Linked DNA regions of Homo sapiens: region 2 is linked to region 1. The links are contacts of gene promoters, found by promoter capture Hi-C in blood cells and fetal thymus (Javierre and others, 2016). All regions are on one chromosome and are shown on one strand. The core of a region is centred on a gene start or on the middle of the fragment in contact, and the rest is flanking DNA. Distances in the headings are between cores, read along the strand shown. Region 1 holds the start of CLDN25 (claudin 25). Region 2 holds the start of PIH1D2 (PIH1 domain containing 2).

What was found. Contacts are between HindIII fragments. The CHiCAGO score rates a contact against its expected background, and 5 or more counts as called.
Region 2: the fragment with the promoter of PIH1D2 here is called in contact with the fragment with the promoter of CLDN25 in region 1 in 1 of 17 cell types (activated CD4 T cells); the score reaches 6.6 in activated CD4 T cells.

What each region holds. Positions count from the first base shown.
Region 1 is chr11:113,776,927-113,784,458 of GRCh38, reverse strand. It overlaps CLDN25 (claudin 25), which reads right to left and starts at 4,663. Exons shown (of 1, transcript NM_001101389.1): 1 at 3,974-4,663. The coding sequence starts at 4,663. The coding sequence ends at 3,974. The HindIII fragment of the contact is 9,706 bases long and covers 429-7,532 here.
Region 2 is chr11:112,071,502-112,079,033 of GRCh38, reverse strand. It overlaps PIH1D2 (PIH1 domain containing 2), which reads left to right and starts at 5,017. Exons shown (of 6, transcript NM_138789.4): 1 at 5,017-5,054; 2 at 5,829-6,036; 3 at 7,276-7,399. The coding sequence starts at 5,860. It overlaps NKAPD1 (NKAP domain containing 1), which reads right to left and starts at 4,735. Exons shown (of 6, transcript NM_018195.4): 1 at 4,118-4,735; 2 at 3,391-3,467; 3 at 719-819. The coding sequence starts at 3,459. RefSeq lists enhancers at 4,243-4,292, 4,353-4,472, 4,883-4,932. The HindIII fragment of the contact is 10,336 bases long and covers 4,041-7,532 here.

The DNA of each region.
Region 1 (7,532 bases), core at 3,414-5,913:
GGCAGTTTTAGGTGAACAGCATCTCCTTCCTCAAACTCTTTCTCTAAATGTGGATTCCCACTAGACTGCAGATCACATTCCCTCTCAGGGAAGGACATGCTGTTGGCCACATGGCCAGTATGTCATCAAGAGTTTCTACCCACACCCATTTAAAAAATTCCTTTTGTCCTTTATAAAGAGAGTTGGGAAGACAGAATATTTTCTTAACAAATCTTTAGTGTCCATTTCTCTGCAGAGGAAGCCATAATCACTTGCTGATGAAAAAATATTAGCACCTGCAAATGCGGGATTCAGGTGAGGGCTGCAAGCCACCAGCAGGAGCAGGTGAGCCACCTGGCAACAAAGACCCTGTTTAAACCTCAACATAAGCACAAAGGAGGGTTTTATTTGACGGTCTTTGGTTTTTCCATCGACTTCAGTGAGAAGCTTTTTTTTTTGTTTTTTTTTTTTGAGACAGAGTCTTGCTCCGTCGCCCAGGCTGGAGTGCAATGGCGCGATCTCGGCTTGCTGCAACCTCTGCCTCAGCCTCCTGAGTAGCTGGGATTACAGGCACCTGCCATCATGCCCAGGTAATTTTTGTATTTTTATAGAGACAGGGTTTTACCGCGTTGGCCAGGCTGGTCTTGAACTCCTGACCTCAGGTGATCTGCCTGCCTCGTGCTGGGATTACAGGCATGAGCCACCACGCCTGGCCTTTGGCGAGAGTTTTTCCTTTGGTCTGGTAGATTGTCTAGGCAACCCATCCCATGAGGCCATAGGATAAGGTGAAGAAAGACTGCCATGGTGCCAAACCCTGGCTTCAAGTCTTGACTCAGTTAATTACTCACCATGGGCATGTCACCTAAATTCTCGGCATCTCATTCTCCTCAGTAGCAAAACTAATAATATCTGCTCTTCCAAAACTCAAAAACATTTCAAGATATGTTCAGTAAAACTACCAAAATTTGTAGAAGTGCTTTGTACACCTGCAAGCCCAACACAACCATGTGATAAGGAAATTTCACAGAGACAAGTCATTAGACAAAGGAGAGCAGGTTACTGTTGCAGTCAATTGGAAGCCAAGCTCCTGTTCCCGGACCACGTGCTTGGCTTCCCATGGTCCTGAGAATAGAGACTATGTTCCTTACTGAGGCCTACAAGGCCCTACAAGGTCTGGCTTCTTCCTACTTTGCCAGCTTCACCTTATGCGTCTTCATCTCCCCTCCTCATCTGGAACTGCTACCCACCCTTTATTGTTCAGCCAGTAATCGCTTCCTTTGAGTACTGATCCGTGAATCACTGACTAGGTTAAATCCCTCCTATTGCATGATTTTTTTATGTATATATATTTTTCTCTTTTTTACATTCATAAAGGTTGATTAAACTATTGGATGATCTTATAGAACCATGTCCCTTTCCAAATTTGTAAAGGTTGTCAAAGTTACTATTTACGTTTATTTGAGTGATTTTACATTAATATTTGTCTCCTGGCTGGGTGCGGTGGCTCACACCTATAATCCCAGCACTTTGGGAGGCCGAGGCGGGTGGATCACTTGAGGTCAGGAGTTGGAGACCAGCCTGACCATGGTGAAACCCTGTCTCTACTAAAAATACAAAATTAGTGGGGTGTGGTGGCACACACCTGTAATCCCAGCTACTTGGGAGGCTGAGGCAGGAGAATTGCTTGAGCCTGGGATGCGGAGTTTGTAGTGAGCCAAGATCGCACCATTGCACTCCAGCCTGGGCAAGAGCAAAACTCTGTCTCAAAAAAAAAAAAAAATTATCTCCCTAATTTGCCTGAATGAGGGACAAGAATATATTTTGTCTTACCATTTTATACTGGTTCCTAGCACATGGTCAGTGCTCAATAAATATTTGTTAAGTGAGTGAATAAATGATCAGATGGATGAATAATAATGAAATTATTCTTTCATGTAGACCCTGGAAGGTCAAGAAAATGCTTAGATAATTGAGCCTCACCCCTGATTGAAACTTTGTCCAAAGAGCTTTGAAACTTTATTGAGAAGGAGTAGCTAATAAAACAGACATTGGAAACCATTTTCTGACTTACCAGACACAGAAAGCCAGAATACACCTTTGATGCAAACTGGCCCTTTGTACTCAGAGCTGTATTTGCCTAGGGATCATTTTGATTTGTGCGTGCCAAGTAGACATACACAAAAGGACAGGCATAAAAGGAGAAGGAGCTTTCTGGAGAAACTGTGACTTCAAGAGAAATCTGCTCTGGGTAAGAAGGTAAGAGTTGCAGAAGATGAAGTTGCACCTGTGCAGACTCCATTTCAGCAGGAAAAAAAAAATGGCATTTTTCTAAGGAGGGAACTGTCCTGGGCTACTTTGGCAAATTTTTTTACTCTTGTGTCATAGTCTGTGTATTCTTGCTTGAGCAATGGCTATCTCGTGATATTGGGGCTATTTTATCAGGAGGCGAGAGGCGTTGTGAGACCTCAGAGCTGAGATGACAAAGCACAGCACCAGCTTGGGGAGGGCGGAATGTCCCTGGTACTGTGAGGAATGCAGCACGCCTCTGAACCTGGAGAAGTGACCTACTTAGGGCATTAGGAGCCATCCCCTTTAGCTGCTCTCCTGAGGGAATTGTTGGCAGGGCCAATGGTGATTCTTGAACTGATTACAGGAGTGGAGGACAGGTGGCAGGGAGAGGAACAAGGTGGATGCTGCAGGATAATTGCAGCTGACAAACAGGTTTATGAGCAACAGGAGGCTCCTCCTTGAGGACCTGCAGAAATGCCAGAGGAAGACCTGAGGTGGGGTAGTCAGGAGAGAGCCTGCCATTGCAGGCAGAGCAAGCAAAGGAACTTAGGTTATCGTTATGGAAGGGACTTGATTTGTAGCCACAACCTGGGTAGGTCTGCTGACACTCAGGTTAAAATTTAAGAGGAGGCCAGAAGTTTGATAACAGCCTGGGCAATATAGCGAGACCCCATTTCTACAAAATATTTTAAAAATTAGCTGAGCTTGGTGGCTCATGCCTGTAGTCCCAGCTACTCAGGAGGCTGAGGCAGGAGGATCCCTTGAGCCTAATAAGAGTTTGAGGCTGCAGTGAGCTATGATCATGCAACTGCACTCCAGGCTGGGCAACAGAGTGAGACCCTGTCTCAAAAACAAAAACAAACAAACAAAAAAACACAGCAAAACAAAATTCAAGGAGTTTATACTGTGATTTTGCACTTGGTAAAAGACATTTCTGAGAAGCTACTTCTTTCATATACATGACCACATTGGGCAGTATTTGGACACAGTCATTCTAAGGTAATCACTGGGTCCCAGTTTGCTTGGGACTTTCCTAGTTTTAGCACCAAAAGTACCTTGTTCTGGGCAAACCAGGAGGGTTGGTCACCCTACCACTCACTCAGACTGACTGTTAACCTTCAGGTGGGGAAGACAGAGTAGACTGCTCATCGCCTCACAATGTAGCAGAAACAAGCCTATGTCTCTCCTTTGGGATATTAAGGATCTATAAAACAGCAAAGGTATATTGTGAAGTTGTCTTTCAAATGGTACACCTGAGGCTGAAAATGGACACAAAGAGAATTTCTGTCCTAAGATGCTGTTCTGGAACAATAATTCATTTTCCTTTGCCAAGGTACCTTCTTCAAGTTTTATTTTTGTAACCTATTCAGAACAGTAAGTGCCTCTTCACACTAGATTTTCTCTGATGGTTGCAATTTTGTAATATATTTTTCCTTAGTAATAAAAGAATCAAATATGTAATTAAGGTTATGAGTTTTTTAAAGCATTTTTATCTAAATAAAATCTCAAATCAGAAAAATACATTTGTTAGACACTGTGCCCTGATTTTTTATTCTGAAATGAGGACTACCATATCATCAAGACAATCACATCCTTGATAAGTGGGACAGTGACCACCAGCCCCAAAATGAAGCAAACAAACCTAGAGTGAGAAAGGAGTCTACAGACATTCCTTTATTCCAGAGATCCTTGGCAGAAGCCAGTCCTAGATGACCAGGTTCCTAGGTCTTAGCATGAGGTGGAAGGAGCCATCTGACTCCTCCACTGGAGCACAGGATAGGGGGACTGTGGGACCAGCCATCAAAGGAAAAGGCACATCTTCTTTTCCCAGGCAGGCCGAGAAGATGAGGAGTAGCCCACCAAGAGCCAGGAAAATACCAGCAGCCCAGCCCAAGTAGAGGGCACCTCCAAACTCCCACCGAGGTATGATGTCAGGGATGCTGTCATCCCAGAAGTCTTGGATTGTGGCATGGGCCACCCAGGAGACTGGAAGGAGGGTAGTGGCTGAAGCGGATGCCTCCAAAGTCCTTCCCAGGAGACCAAGCCGCCTCTTGAATACCCATCTGATCCTGTGAAACTGGAAGCATTCAGACCCAAAGCTGCAGAGCAAAAGCCCCAATAGGCCCAGCCCATGGGAGGCTACCATGAGGATGCGGGCTACCTGGAGCTCCTGGGGCAGAGACAAGAAGGATTCAAAGGCCTTGCACACAGTGGCGACTTCCTCTCGATCCACGCAGACCTCCCAAATCCCCATGATCCAGGTCTCCATCTCGTTCAGTTCCAGATTAAGAGTCTTCCACTGGGGCAGGATGGTGGTAACACAGGAGCAGACCCAGCCAAGGAGGGAGAGAAGTAGCCCCCCGAGCTGGACTTTTGCACGGAAACTCCAGGCCATAGTCACTCCCACCACAGATGCAGAAAGAAAAGGAGCACGAGTGGGTCAGTGACTGGTTAGCAGGGACTACTTTTCAGGAGGCTTGAGTGGAAGATCTTTCACATTGGGAGAGGGCTCTTGTTTCAGTATTCTGAGCAGCAGCTGAGGCAGGTGCCAGGAATTGGCAATGTTTGGGTTTAGAGGGTGTGTCCAATATCGGATGTGGGTGTGAAATCTGGGGGAGGGTCCCATGACCAGCAAAAAAGCCATACAGGGAGCCATCAATACATATTTGATGAATAAATTCATAAACTAAAATCACTCCTCAGCTCTGAGATCACAAGAATGATTGATGTTCTGGAAATATACGTTGATATAATCTTTTTGAAGGGCAACATGACTTTATGTTTCATGCTTTTAAACATATGCATACTTTGACCCAGCACCTTATCTCCAGGAATCTACCTAATGTATCATGAATACGTACAAAGATTTATGAAAATGTCCATTGAAATATTGTTAAGAATTGTCAGTTTTTGTTAATACTTGGCAGCCATTTTAAAGTGATTTTGTAGAAAGAATTTTAATGATTTGAAAAATATTTTTGATATATTGTTAAGTGAGAAAAGCAAGTGACCAAACAGTACATGGAATATATAGAATGCAGCCGGGCACGGTGGCTCATGCCTGTAATCCCAGCACTTTGGGAGGCTGAGGTGGGTGGATTACTTGAGGCCAGGAGTTCGAGGCCAGCCTGGGCAACATGGCGAAACCTCACCTCTACTAAGAAAGTGAAAAAAATTAGCCGGGCATGGTGACACACGCCTGTAGTCCAAGCTGCTTAGGAGGCTGAGGCAGGAGAATCTCTTGAACCTGGGAGGCGGAGGTTGCAGTTAGCCGAGATCATGCCACTACACTCCAGCCTGGGTGACAGAGTGAGACCCCATCTCAGAAAAAAGAAAAAGCCAAAGAATATATAGAAATATGTGCGTGTGTGTGTGCGTGTGTGTGTGCGTGTGTGTGTGTATATGTGTAGACCACAAAATGTTAACATGATTATTTTGGTGATAAAATTATGCATAGTTTTTATTTCCTTATTTGTGCTTACCTATGCATTTTACGCATTTTACACATTTTATAAATTTATCACTTAATATTTTTATTACAAAAAGCCCACAAATATTAATTTTACAAAATAATTTTAAATTCCTCAATCCAAGGAACCTACCCAGACACAGAATATCCCCAGAGGGAGGTGCTCCCTCCCCAGGCTCCCCTTGCTGCTGGGACAGCAGCTATAAATAGATGGTAATCATACCAGCTTCCATTCCTGTTTGTTGCTGCTGCCAAGTAGCAGGTTCTGACAGGAAAGGAAATAATTTGCATTTACTGAGTACGGCTAAATGCCAGACTTTTGGCTAGACACTTTATCCGTATTTAATTTTCACACTGCCACTGTGTGATACATGTTACGTAACTTGCCAAGGTCCCCCAGCTGGTAAACAACAGATCCAACACGAACCAGGCAGCTCAGACTCGGACATTTGATGTTCTTGTCCCCAGGCTGCAGCAGCTGCCCCTGCACACTGGTGACACATCATGTGGGTGAGGCTTAGTCTTTATAGCGAGACAGAGAAGAAAACGGACTTATTCTGTTGGAGTCATGAATGTCTGACTCATGTGTTTCCCTATTCACAAATTAACCTGCTCCACACTGTGGTAGATATGAAGTGAAAGCAAAGGTGTTCCTGAAAGGAAGATGAAGGGGTGGCCTGCCCCTCCACACCTGTGGGTATTTCTAGTCGGGTGGGACAAGAGACTGAGAAAAGAAATAAGACACAGAGACAAAGTGTATAGAAACAACAGTGGGCCCAGGGGACCGGCGTTCAACATACCAAGGACCTGCACCGGCACCGGTCTCTGAGTTCCCTCAGTTTTTATTGATTATTATCTTCATTATTTCAGTAAAAAGGAATGTAGTAGGAGGGCAGGGTGATAGTAAGGAGAAAAACACGTGAACAATAGAATCTACGTCATAATTAAGTTCAAGGGAAGGTACTATGACTGGACGTGCAGGTAAGCCAGATTTATGTTTCTCTCCACCCAAACATCTCAGTGGAGTAAAGAATAACAAGGCAGCATTGCTGCAAACATGTCTGGCTTCCCACCATAGGGTGGTTTTTCTCCTATCTCAGAATTGAACAAATGTACAATTGGGTTTTATACCGAGACATTCAGTTCCCAGGGGCAGGCAGGAGACAGTGGCCTTCCCCTATCTCAACTGCAAGAGGCTTTCCTCTTTTACTAATCCACCTCAGCACAGACCCTTTACGGGTGTCGGGCAGGGTGACGGTCAGATCTTTCTCATCCCATGAGGCCATATTTCAGACTATCACATGGGGAGAAACCTTGGACAATACCCCGCTTTCAAGGGCAGGGGTCCCTGCGGCTTTCCACAGTGCATTGTGTCCCTGGTTTATTGAGACTAGAGAATGGCGATGACTTTTACCAAGTATACTGCTTGTAAACATTTTGTTAACAAGGTATGTCCTGCACAGCCCTAGATCCCTTAAACCTTGATTTCATACAACACATGTTTTTGTGAGCTCCAGATTGGATCAAAGTGGTTGGGTCAAAGTGGCTGGGGCAAAGCTACAAATTAACATCTCAGCAAAGCAATTATTTAAAGTAGAGGTCTTTTTCAAAATGGAGTCTCTTATGTCTTTCCTTTCTACATAGACACAGTAACAGTCTGATCTCCCTTTCTTTTGCCTACAGAAGAGACATCTCCTGAGAAAGGAGGATCTTGAGTTTATCTAACTGATGGCTCAACACCTAAGACATCTGGTATACCAGTGTTTATCCGTGGTGTGAGGGTTTGGAGGAAGGC
Region 2 (7,532 bases), core at 3,768-6,267, 1.7 Mb after region 1:
TGTAGCTCTTACACTTACAAGCGTGTAAGGATCTTCCCAATTATTCAAGCATTCCTAGGCCTCTCCACAAGGAAGATAACTAAGCCTGCATAATCCTTCATATTTACACTCAAGCTATTAAGGTAATGTGAAAAGGCTGTTGATCTGGTGAAGAGGGTGAATAGACAGGGTGAAGAAAAGTCTGAGGCCAGGCAAGTGGCTCATGCTTATAATCCCAACACTGGGAGGTTGAGGTGGGAGGACTGCGTGAGCCCAGGATTCTATACCAGCCTGGGGAACACAGCAAGACACCACCTCTACAAAAAAAAAGTAGCTAGGCATAGTGGCATGCACCTGCAGTTCCAGCTACAAAAAGAAAAGCCTGAAAGAATGAAAGATTAATAGAGAATAGAATGACTGATCAGCTTAGTGACCACAAGATTCCAGTATAAAATCTTCAGTTAAAAGCTATCAGGTAAGGTTAGAATCCACAGAACCCTACACATTCATAATTGTTCAGGTAGAATTTTTTAACTCTCCATTGTAAATAAGTACAAAGAGCAGGGCCATATGCGTCACAGCCATTATCTTTATGCCTGGGTCTAGATTTACGAAAGAAGGAAGGCTTAAGGACTCACAGAACTGAATTTATCCTTAATATACCAAAGTATTTTTAAACAAAAGTTGATGATTCTGAAAAAGATGAGAATTATTTTAGTTCTCAGAGCTGCAACTTCACCTTGAACTGCTGGGTAGCATTTTCCTTTTGGTCCCCCGGTAAGCATCTTCCATCTGTTTTTCCAGTTCTCTTATTTTCCACATATCTGATTCCTCCTGAATCTAGAATTTTTAAAAAGGAAATAAAAATAAGTTACTAAAAATAACTTTACATTACAGAAAAGTAACTAACTGGCCGGGCACAGTGGCTCACACCTGTAATCCCAGCACTTTGGGAGGCCAAAGCAGGCAGATCATGAGGTCAAGAGTTTGACACCAGCCTGACCAACATGGTGAAACCCCGTCTCTAATAAAAATACAAAAATTAGCCGGGCGTGGTAGCATGCACCTGTAATCCCAGCTACTCAGGAGGCTGAGGCAGGAGAATCGCTTGAACCCTGGAGGCAGAGGTTGCAGTGAGCCGAGATTGCACCACTGCACTCCAGCCTGGGCGATGGAGTGAGACTCTGTATCAACAAAAAAAGAAAAAAAAAAAAAAGCAACTAACTGAAAATACAATCTGACTAATTATTGGGCTACAGACTGGGCTATGATCAGGAACCTGGAAAACAAATTGGTTTCTCTAGAAAGTGGCTGAACAGTCCAATCCAGTAAATCTCAAATATGTGGAAATCTTCCCCAATAGAATTTTTAAACCGCTGCACAGACAAACATCACCTTATCAATCTTGCAATTATGCTGCGATTAGCAAATGATAATGCCACATTTCCAAAATGCAATATGATTTTAATTATATCATCTCAATTGAACCTTAAGCAATCTCATGAGGAAAATATAGCAGCTACCATTATTACATTTTACTGTAAAGAAACAAAAGCTCAGAGATTTTAACAAAGTCAAAAAACTAGTAAGGACAGGTCTTTAAACTCCCTAAGCTAAATCTCTTCTGGTAATATTATAATTTTTGTCAAAAATAAAATAAAATAAAATAATCAGTATGGCTGCTAGGGAATTTCTTGAAAAGCAGAATGTGATTACCCAAAGAACACATTTTATTTCTAAGTCTTCCTGCATAATTTCATTAGATCTGTGCTAGATTTATCTTTTTCTAGCTACCATTTTAAATCTAAGCTTACTATATAACTAGGGGCAGGTTAACATAATTGCATAGGCAGCTCGGGTAACAGTTTTACCCTCGCCCATAATTTTAAAAATCAGGTGATATGATAATAATAATATGATCAAACCAAAAGTAGTACAGTTTACTGAAGAAAACTAAACCAGGGGCCTTGGCCCTCTTTTCATTATATGTGCTCTCCTAGGTGACCTCATCTACTCTCATGACCTCTTATCATCAACCTATACATCAATAATCCCGAAACCTTTATGTCCAGCCCCAACTTTTCTCCTCTACTCCAAGTCTGAATTTTCAACTGCTTGGACATCCTATAAGCACCTCACCATCAACATGTTGAAAACCAAACTAATTACCTTTCCTATCATAATTGTCCCATTTTTTGTTCTTTATCTCAATTAACAGAATTGTCATCATCTACCCAGTCACATAGGTGGTTACACAGTTGACCTTGAACAACAGGAATCTCAACTGTGCAGGTCCACTTATCCTCAGATTTTCTTCCACCTCTGCCACCTGTAAGATAGCAAAACAAGTCCCTCTTCTTCCTCCTCAGCCTACTCAATGTGATTTTCTTAATGAAATGTTGTTTTCTCTAGCTACTTTACTATAAGAATACAGTATATAATACATGTAACATAAAAAATATGTGTTAATCCACTGTTTATGGTATCGCTATGGCTTTCAGTCAGTAGTAGGCTATTGGCACTTACATTTTGAGGGAGTAAAAAGTTATACATGGATTTTCGACTATGCAGGGGGTTGATGCCCCTAGCCCCTGCATTGTTCAAGGGTCAACTGAATTAGATTCCATTCTTATCATTATAATCTAATTAGCCACCAACTTCTTTGGATTCTATCTCCTAAATTCCTCTTCTTCATCCCTGCTGTCACTAATTTCATGCGAACCCTCATCATCTCTCACCTGTAATACTGCAATTGCCTCCTAATTACTCTCCCTTCTGTATCTCCCCATCTGATTCATTCCCTACCCAGCTGACAAACCATCTTTCTAAAATATAACTATGATCATGCCACACCCTGTTTAAAAACATTTGATGGCTTCTTTATTGCCTAGAGGAAGAAGTCTCAGCTCCAAACATCACAATCCAACTCTAATTACCACTGAGGCCTTATCTTCTGCCACTATCCCCTACCTTCCCTGCTTTCTGGATAAATTTCTTGCCATGCCCCAAGTGATTAATGCTCTTTCTCGTTGCCATATTAATGCATGATGCTGTCTATCCAGAATGATATTTCATACCTGGTAAACGTATACCTATTCAAGAACCAGTTCAAAGATCAGCAGCTGAAATACCACTAATTCTGTAAAATCTTTTCTAATTCCCCAGTGTAGATTTTATTATTTCCTCCTTAGTGCTCCAAAGCACTTTGCAAATATCTCTGTTATACAGTACTTATCAAACTGTATTATAATTATCTATTTTATTCATCATTTTATTTCCTACTGTGTACGGAAGCTTCCAAAAACTAGATGACAAGAATATTCTTTGTATCTCCCAGTTGTTCCAAAATAATGCTTGGCACACTGCTTGCCTTCAGTAAGCGTTGAGGAGTAACTAGGTTGTACCTCCCACCTTATTGTGAGCATCTGTGTGCCGGATGACATTCCTCAGGAGGACCTTCCCCAGTGGAATCCGGGACATTCTTCAATCTGAAATGAATCAACAAATAACGTTTAGTAATAATTTCTGTTATTACTTTATCTTTTCTTGAAGTTTTATAAAGAAGCATATGAGGTACAGGAAAGATCACTGAACTAGAAGTCAGAGATTCTAAAGAATAGTTTTCCCTTTACCATTAAAAGAGGGAAATGCCTAAACACACTAATGTGAGATGAAAGGAGATAATGTACATTAAAGTTCTTTGAAAATGCACAAGACTACATAAAATTAAGTGCTTTCATGAGCACCATTTTATTTAATCCTCATAACTACTTTTTATATGAGGCAAGTATCTCCATCCCTATTTTGTAGATGAAGTTCCCTTAAAGCTGTAACGTCCCAAGCCACATAGTCCCAGGCAAATGATGTATGTCACTGTCTAAATTAAAAATCAAACCTCCAATCCCAATATAGTTTGCACTGAAGCAAATACGTAGATTTGAGAGTGTCAGGAACCACGGGTGTCAACAGTAACAGAAACTGATTACTCAAAACATCAAATGCAAAGATGTCCTAAATTTCTCCATTTGGGGGCATTTTATTTCCTACTTGCTACGGAAGCTTCCAAAAACTAGATGACAAGAATATTTTCGTGTGTAGCTAGCAGGAGCTTTGTGCAACCACCCCAACGCTCACTCACCCCTTGATCCTGAGGAAATCAGGCATCTTGCTAGTGAGACGAAGAACCACTCCATTACAAGATCTCCTCCGACCCAGGAAGCCAAGGAGTCAGGGCTCAAAGGCAGCTCTGCAGCTTCACCCGAGTCCTTCGTGAAAACGCAGCCTTCCCACTGGTTACTCTGCCCTCACCTGTGGCCCAGGCCACTGCCGCGTTTCCCCCAGCCCAGACCGACAGGCAGATCTCTCTCCCGGACTGAGGCCGGAGGCTGAGCCGGGGCGGAATTCGGACAGCCCGGTTGACCTGGGCATTCCCCGCTCACGCTCCTCTAGGACGAACCCCGGGGGTAAGTTTCACTCCCCAGAAAGGCTGGGAACGCTTTGGATGGCTACGGCCTTCGGTTGGGCCCCAGAAAGTATCTAGGGAGCCTGAAGCGGGGGTTGAGGTTTCCAAGTGGAAGACAGAGGAAATATCCCCATCTTTGTCACCGGGATCCCTGTTCCCCAGCGGCCTCGGAGCTCCCGGTAACCTTCCCTCCAAACGCCCTCCCCACACAAATACACACAAACACACCCATACCGTGCGCCGCAGCCTCGCGTGGCGGGGGGTAGGGGGGAAGAAGTGGTTTGGGAGAAAAAGGAGGAGACTTCCTTTTCAGGCCGGAAGTCGTGCTCCTGAGAAATCGTCCCACCAACAGGCAGCCCAGAGACTCCCACAAGGGAGGGTTTTCAGGACACTCCAGAGGTTGACGGGTGCAGAAGGAAGGCGGGCGCTTTCCTGGAAGAGAAGTGGGTCAGGCCCAACTGAAAAGCAAGCCTGGCACCAGAAGGGGGACATTCCGGAACTAGATATGAAGAGACTTTTCTCCCTGAAGTTCCCCGGACCCAATTAGATGTTGTACCCAGGCTGGTTACCCTGGTAACAGGCGTCGCGGTTTGTCAAGGAACTGAGAGAAGAGGTGGGTTTGCCAACCTATAGAATGATTACCCGTTAGAACTGAGAGAAGAGGTGGGTTTGCAGACCTATGGAATGATTATCCGTTAGTTAAGTTTCCCGTTTAGCATAACCCTTACACAGTAATTGAAGAATCTAAACCTCTTTTCCTCATTCTAAAGATGCTGTGGGACACCTCTCCAATGGGAGAAGAGGCTAAGGAGATTTATCTGAAGACGTAGAGAAGTGTCCCAGCCTCTCTATTAGCTTACTTAATCTCGCAATAATCCTATGGTAGAGGTATTATCGTCTTCATTTTGAACAGAACATTAATTGCTCAAGGTCACAGAGCTAGTGAGAGATAGAACTAAGACCGGAATCTAGGCATTCTGGCTCACAAGTCCATGCTTTGAAATACTAAACTATACTGAGGATTAAGGAAGTCTTATGTGGCCCTCACCCCACACCACACCTCTGGCAATTTCAGAACTGGGGAGCCACCAGTCAGGTGTTGGAACAAGAAGATCAGGAAACCCAGACTTAAAATGATTACTCTGACTTGTCAGGGTCCAAATAGAAGTAAGGCCTTATCTGAGAGGACAATGTGAGAATTTAGGAAGAGGTACTAGATAATTAAAGAATAAGGAAAACATAAAGTGGTGCTGATCCACAACCTTTTAGACACAAATGCTGTCCTAACTTCACCAAAACAATTCCTGACCCATTCCACCTCCCCAAAGCAGAAATGAATCAATAATTACACAGACAGTTTTCTTCCTGAAGTCGTGTTTTTCCACAGGCTTAAGAAAATTATTCACCACTCATAAGTCATGGAGACATCCTCAAAAGGTCTGCTTACCCAAGTTACTCAGTTTTGGAACCTCCTAGATGATCTAGCTCAGAGTGACCCTGAGGGCTATGAGAAGTTTATTCAGCAGCAGCTGAAAGAAGGGAAACAGCTCTGTGCTGCCCCAGAACCACAGCTTTGTCTACAGACCAGGATTCTGGTATGTCGAGTTGGTGCCAGGGATGGGGAGGTCTTGAATGAAATGATCCCAGAATAACCAGAGAATACTTTACACTTAGGTATTGCTAATTTTTTTTGTTTTTTTTTTGTTTTGTTTTGTTTTGTTTTGTTTTTTGAGACAGAGTCTTACTTTGTCACCAGGCTGGAGTGCAATGGTGTGGTCTTGGCTCGCTGCAACCTCTGCCTCCCGGGTTTAAGCGATTCTCCTGCCTCAGCCTCCCAAGTAGCTGGGATTACAGGTGTGTACTACCATGCCCGGCTAATTTTTGTATTATTAGTAGAGGCGGGGTTTCACCATGTTGGCCAGGCTGGTCTTGAACTCCTGACTTCAGGTGATCCACCTGACTCAGCCTCCCAAAGTGCTGGGATTACAGGCATGAGCCACTGCGCCTGGCAGACTTTTTTTTTTTTTTTTTTTTTTTTTTTTTGAGATAGGGTCTTGCTGGCTCTGTCGCTCAAGCTGGAGTGCAGTGGCACAATCACAGCTCACAATCACAGCTCATTGCAGCCCAAGCGATCCTCCCACCTCAGCCTCCCAAGTAGCTGGGATCACAGGTGGGCATCACCACACCCGGCTAATTTTTAAATGATTTTTGTAGAGACAGGGTCTCCCTATGTTTCACAGGCTAATCTCGAACTCCTAGGCCTCAAGCAACCCTCCTACCTCAGCCTCTCAAAGTACTAGGGTAACATACGTGAGCCACCACCCCAGTCTGGATTCCTAATTAAAAGCCAGCAGCCTTGGGGAAATCAAATAACAACAGTATAATCAAACGCAGTTTTAATACATGAAATGACTTACTTGGAGCCTAAAATTCTTTCATTCCTGTGGTGAGTGGCTTTTAGGATATTATTTTTTAAATGTTTTTGTTTTTGTTTTTTTTGAGATGGAGTTTCACTCTCGTCACCCGGGCAGGAGTGCAATGGCACAATCTTGGCTCACTGCAACCTCCGCCTCCTGGGTTCAAGCGATTCTCCTGCCTCAGCCTCCCGAGTAGCTGGGATTACAGGTATCCACCACCACACCTGGCTAATTTTTGTATTTTTAGTAGAAACGGAGTTTCACCATGTTGGCCAGGCTGGTCTCAAATTCCTGACCTCAGGTGATCCGGCCGCCTTGGACCCCCAAAGTGCTCGGATTACAGGCGGGAGCCACCATGCCTGGCCTTAAATGGTTTTAAACTAGGTTTTGAGATGTGCAAAATTATTTGCTTTCCAGAAACCAAAAGAAAAAATACTTTTTATCAACCTGTGTCAGTGGACAAGGATCCCAGCTCCCCAATCAACCACTCATCCAGTACCTCTAACTGTTGGCAAACCAGAAGATACAACTGAGATATCAGGTACAAATAATTGAGAGAAAGCACATTGTAAAAATTTTATTAGGAATGGACAAGATCTTACTTGGTTGAGAGCATTTCAAGTAAAACTCTTTATTTGTTGATAATATAATTACAATTAGTGTATCTTTATGCA